Linked DNA regions of Homo sapiens: region 1 is linked to region 2. The links are contacts of gene promoters, found by promoter capture Hi-C in human tissues and cell types (Jung and others, 2019). All regions are on one chromosome and are shown on one strand. The core of a region is centred on a gene start or on the middle of the fragment in contact, and the rest is flanking DNA. Distances in the headings are between cores, read along the strand shown. Region 1 has its middle 6.4 kb from the start of ZNF264. Region 2 holds the start of ZIM3 (zinc finger imprinted 3).

Region 1 (3,171 bases), core at 332-2,831, 40 kb after region 2:
TTTACTTACTGAATACTGATATCATTTGTGGGTCCTGGTAAATATTTCAAAGTTGTCGTACAAACAGGACAATAGATTCTCTCAACTCTTCAAACGTCTAACATGACAGACTTATAAGTCTTTTTTCTTCTTTTTTTTTTTTTTTTTTTTTTTTTTGTAGAGATGGGGTCTCGCTATGTTGCCAAGGATGATCTTGAGCTGCTGGGCTCAAGGGATCCTCTCACCTTGACCTTGGCCTCCCAAAGTGCTGGGATTATAGGCATGAGCCACCACGCCTAGCCTCTTGCAAAGTCTTATAATGTCGTTTTTAAACTCTTAAGCTGCCAAGTGTGGGTGGCTCATGCCTGTAATCCCAACATTTTGGGAGGCTGAGGTGGGAGGATCACCTGAGCCCAGGAGTTCAAGACCAGACTGGGCAACATGGCAAGAACCTGTCTTTACAAAAAATTAAAAAATAAATTAGCTGGGCATGGTGGTACACACCCACAGTCACATCTACTTGGGAGGGTGAGGTAGGAGGATTGCTTCGGCCTAAAATGTTGGCTGGGCATGGTGGCTCACGCCTGTAATCCCAGCACTTTGGGAGGCCAAGGTGGGTGAGTCATGAGATCAGGAGTTCGAGACCAGCCTGGCCAACATGGTGAAACCCCGTGTCTACTAAAAATACAAAAAAATTAGCCAGGCATGGTGGCAGGTGCCTGTAATCCTAGCTACTCGGGAGGGTGGGGCAGGAGAATTGCTTGAACCGGGAGGCAGAGGTTGCAGTGAGCCAAGATCACGCCACTGCACTCCAGCCTGGGCGACAGAGAGAGACTCCATCTCAAAAAAAAAAAAAAAAAAAAAAAAAAAAGTCAAGGCTGCAGAAAACTATGGTCACTCCACTGCAACTACATCCTGGGCAGCAGAGTGACCTTTAATAAAATAAAAACACCCTTGAGCTACTCTCGTAAACCCAGTAAGACTTACACATTTAATAAATCAGATTGTCTTAAGCCTTTTGACATCCTAAATATAAGCTTATGCAAAGCAGCAACACACATGTAAAATATAAAAGTAACAAAGATAACTTCAATACAATTTTTTTTATTTTAAAAATTTTTTAAGAGTTGGGGGCTTGCTCTGTTGCCTGGGCTGGAGTGCAGTGGCAGGTTCATTGCTCACTGCAGCCTGAAATTCCTGGGTTCAAGTGATCTTCCCATCTCAGCTTCCCAAGTTTTGAGGATTACAGGTGTGAGCCACCATGCTCAGCTCTTAACAACTTTTTTTTTTTTTTTTTTGAGACAACGTCTCCCTCTGTCACCCAGGCTGGAATACAGTGGCACCATCACAGCTCACAGCAGCCTCAACCTCCTAAGCTCAAGCGATCCTCCAGCCTCAGCCTCCTGAGTTACTGGGACGACAGTTGTGCACCACCATACCCAGCTACTTTTTAATTTTTTTGTAGAGATGGTGTCTCACTATGTTACCCAGGCTGATCTCAAACTCCTGGCCTCAAGCAATCTTTCTGCCTTGGCTTCCCAGAGAGAGTTTTTCAGTCCATCATTTTTCAGGATTGTGAGCCAGGGTTCCATTAGATCTTATTGAGATATCTCTTGTGTGTCTGCTGTGTGCCAGACATGGTTTAAAAGACTAGAGATACAGGCCAGGGATGGTGGATCACACGTGCAATCCCAGCACTTAGAGAGGCCGAGATGGGCAGATTGCTTGAGCCCAGAAATTTGAGACCAGCCTGGGCAATATGGCAAAAGCCCATCTACAAAAATAAAAATAAAAATTAGCCGAGCATGGTGGCATAGCTGCATGTAGTCCCAGCTACTTGGGAGGCTAAGGTGGTAGGATCGATTGAGCCTGGGAGATCAAGTCTGCAGTGAACTGAGGTCGCACCACTGCACTCCAGCCTGGGTGACAGAGCAAGACCCTGTCTCAATTAAAAAAACAAACAAACAAAAAAAAAACTTAGGATCCAGCAGTGAACAAAATCATCACTGACGCTTACCCTCATGGAGCTAACATTCTGGATGAAAAGTCAGAAATAAACAATAATTATAATACAGAAATAGACATGATAAGTTAACCAGTGCTATAACAAAAAGAAGGAAAAGGAGAGTAAGGTGGATCAGGGTGTCAGAGTTTGGGGAGTTGTTTGCAATTTTCATTAGAATGATCAGGAAACAGCTTATTTAGAATGTGACATAGATCAAAGTCTATAGGGAGATGAGGGGCTGAGCCATGTGGAGATTGGGGTAGGAAGTGGATTTCCTGCCACAGGCTTTCAAGCAAGCATATAATATCCAGGGCTGGGTGCTGTGGCTCACGCCTGTAATCCCAGCACTTTGGGAAGCCAACGTGAGAAGATTGCTTGAGGCCAGGAATTCAAGACCAGCTTGGGCAACATATTAAGACCCCCATCTCTATTTTTTTTAATCTTTTTTTTTTTTCTTTTGAAACGGAGTCTCGCTCTGTCGCCAGGCTGGAGTGCAGTGGCCCGATCCCAGCTTACTTCAATCTCTGCCTCCTGGGTTCAAGCGATTCTCCTGCCTCAGCCTCCTGACTAGCTGGGATTACAGGTGTGTGCCACCACGCCTGGCTAATTTTGTATTTTTAGTAGAGACTTCCCCATGTTTGCCAGGATGGTCTCGAACTTCTCACCTCGAGTGATCCACCCACCTCAGCCTCCCAAAGTACTGGGATTACAGGTGTGAGCCACCACACCTGGCCAAAATAAGCCTTTTTTACTGTATTTATTTGAAGATTAAAGATGGTTTAAGGTGACAAGGGGTAGAGTATGATTGCCAACTATATGTGTAAACTTGTTTAGGCTGTACTACCCAGAAATTGTATTAAACACTGACCAGGGTATTGTTATGAAGGTATTTCATAGAAACGGTTAACATCTATAATCAGTTATTTTGATAATGTAGGTGGTTCTTATCTAATCAGTTGAAAGGCCTTAAGAGAAAAACAGGGTTCCCTGGGGAAGAAATTCTGCCTCAAGACTGCACCTTCAGCTCCTATCCACGTTTCAATTCTGCTGGCCTGAACTCTAGCCTACAGATTTGGGACTGGCCTGTCCCTGCAATCACATAGCCCATTTCTTCTTCTATCTTTTTTTAAAATTTTTATTGTAGGCAAGGTGGGTGGCTCACACCTGTAATCCCAGCACTTTGGGAG
Region 2 (2,948 bases), core at 449-2,948:
GCAGTGAACATGGGATGCAGATAGCCCTTCAGCTTTGCCATAAGCGGGACAGCTGGATCATTGGTAATTCTTTGCCAAAAGCGTAGATTTTGGCCACGCGTGGCAGCTCACACCTATAATCCCAGCACTTTGGAAAGCCAAGGTGGGAGGATCAGTTGAGCCCAGGAGTTACTTTTTTTTTTTTTTTTTTAAGACCAAGTCTTGCTCTGTCGCCCAGGCTGGAGTGCAGTGGCACAGTCTCGGCTCACTGCAACCTCTGCCTCCCGGGTTCAAGGGATTCCCCTGCCTCAGCCTCCCGTGTAGCTGGGATTACAGGCATGCACCACCATGCCCAGCTAATTTTTGCATTTTTAGTAGAGACAAGGTTTTACCATGTTGTTCAGGCTGGTCTCGAGCTGCTGATCTCAAGTGATCCGCCGGCCTCAGCCTCCCAAAGTGCTGGGATTATAGGCGTGAACCACCACATCCAGCCAAGCCCAGGAGTTTGAGACCAGCCTGTGCAACATAGTGAAACCTCTGTCTCAATGTTTAAGTAATAAAGTTTTTATTTTTTATTTTATTTTATTGAGGCAGGGTCTCATTCTGTCACCCAGGCTGGAGTGCAGTGATGTGATCCCGGCTCACAGCAGTTTAAAAATCCCTGGCTCAAGCAATCCTCCTACCTTGGCCTCCTGAATAGTTAAGACTATGGGTGCATGCTACCACATCAGCTAACTTTTTATTTTTTGTAAAGAAGGGATCTTGCTATGTCACCTAAACTGGTCTCAAACTCCTAGGCTCAAGCAATCCTCCTCCCTCAGCCTCCCCAAATCCTGGGATTACATGCATGAGCCACCACACCAGCCAGGAATAAAGTTTTAAATAAGTAAATATGTTTTTAAAAAGAATAAACTTGCCGGGCACAACTTTAATGTTTATTAAAGTTTGAGGAGTCCAATTCTAGCACAAAAAATATATATAATTTTAAAAAACAGTAAATTGTAAATGCTTTCACCACAAAAATAGATTAATTAGCTTGATTTAATCATCCCCCCAATGTAAACATGTATCAAAACATCACATTGTACCCCATAAATAAACACAATTATTATTTGTCAATAAAAAGTTTTTAGAAGTAGCTGTGGGCCAGCAGTAATGCTAAGGACTGGAGGGCCACGAAAATAATTTTGAGTGTCCTGGGAGCATCACTTTTCAATATGACAACTAAAAAAAAAATCTAAACTACCAATGTAAAATATTTAGCTTATTCCAGCAAATAGGAGAGGTAGAAAAATGAAACTAAGTAAAAATGCAAAACAAACAAACAAACAAAACCCAGACATTTGGTTTTCAGGGAGAAAAAAAAATCAGCTTACCTCCAGTGGAATCTGGCATAAATTAGCAAGTTGATTGATTTCTGATGCCTGTGGTCTTTTCTTCTGAAAGGGACTGAAAATGAAAAGGCGTGTATACTGAAAAGCTACACTAATGACTAAAACTTAATCGGCCCTCTACCCGCTGTATTCCGCATCATAATCCAGTCAAGAAACAACCCAAAACACTCACTTCCTATCAAAAGCCCCACCTGATCCTATCAGGCCACATCAAAATTTCAATTCCCAATTCTTTCCTCGACTTCTCCAAAACTGAATGAACTCTCATAAAAATTGTGATTGTGAAAGCTTAATTTTCAAATCTGCCCAATCAGTTTCCAATGGAATTTTTTTTAAGTTCATGCAAGTAAAAATTTTTTACCTTAACTTTGAAATAGAAAGCATGGAAAACATTATCCAAATGTCAGAGGATGAAAATAAATTAAAACAACAAAAATTGGCTGGGCACGGTGGCTCATGCCTGTAATCCCAGCACTTTGGGAGGACAGGAGTTCAAGACCAGCCTGGCCAACATGGGGAAACCCCGTCTCTACTAAAAATACAAAAATTAGCTGGTCATGGTGGCACGTGCCTGTAATCCCAGCTACTTGGGAGGCTGAGGCAGGAGAATCGCTTGAACCCGGGAGACGGAGGCTTCAGTGAGCCAAGATCGTGCCACTGCACTCCAGCCTGGGCAATGAGCGAGACTCCATCTCACGTCTCAAAAAAAAAAAAAGAAAGGAAAAGAAAAAAGAAATAGGGCCAGCGGAGGTGGAACAATGCCTTAAAGTGCTCTCCGCCCGACAGAAAGAATTCAGGCTCCAACCTCCAACTGGCAAAATCTCTTCAGCTGTACTAATACTCTCAAAATGAGATCAACATGCCAATCCATCCCCACCCTAGTCTGGGTGTTGAATTTAAACACAGGCTACATGCCCTTGCCTGCAGACATGGAGACCTTCCAAAATTGAGCGTCCAACTGAATTCCAAGAGATTAAACCAGACTTCATGGGACAGGATGCACCAGACTAGACCTCCTCCCAGGAGAAGAGGTATCCAAAGATCGTATTAGCAAATGACCCTTGGCGGTGTGCGGTGGCTCAAGCCTGTAATCCCAACACTTTGGGAGACTGAGGCAGACAGATCACCTGAGGTCAGGAGTTCAAGACCAGCCTGGTCAACATGGTGAAATCCTGTCTCTACTAAAAATACAAAAATTAGCTGGGCATGGTGGTACACACCTGTAGTCCCAGCTACTCAGCTACTCAAGAGGCTGAGGCAGAATTGCTTGAACCCAAAACACAGAGGTTGCTGTGAGCTGAGATCATGCCACTGCACTCCAGCCTGGGCGACAGAGGGAGACTCCATCTCAAAAAAAAAAAAAAGAAAAAAAAAGCAAAATGACCCAGCCAGCCTGAATCCCAGCCGCCGTGTCGGACTACTATAGTCCCAGATACTTGGAAGGCTGAGGTGGGAGGATCAATTGAGCCCAAGAGGTCAAGGCTGCAGTGAGCAAGGATCTTGCCACTGCATTCCAGCCTGAGAGACAGAGCAAGCCTGCAGGTGAACGGAAAGGGGTGGAGTGATTTTATATAT

Evidence for each region. Contacts are between HindIII fragments. The study calls those that stand out against the background at their distance.
Region 1: a fragment that was not itself captured here is called in contact with the fragment with the promoter of ZIM3 in region 2 in 1 of the 25 tissues and cell types used here (psoas muscle).

The regions. Positions count from the first base shown.
Region 1 is chr19:57,183,468-57,186,638 of GRCh38, forward strand. No RefSeq gene overlaps it. Among named protein-coding and RNA genes, the nearest start is that of ZNF264, 6.4 kb to the right of the region's middle. The HindIII fragment of the contact is 3,949 bases long and covers 1-3,171 here.
Region 2 is chr19:57,143,504-57,146,451 of GRCh38, forward strand. ZIM3 (zinc finger imprinted 3) reads right to left here and starts at 1,699. Exons shown (of 5, transcript NM_052882.1): 1 at 1,356-1,699. The HindIII fragment of the contact is 26,155 bases long and covers 150-2,948 here.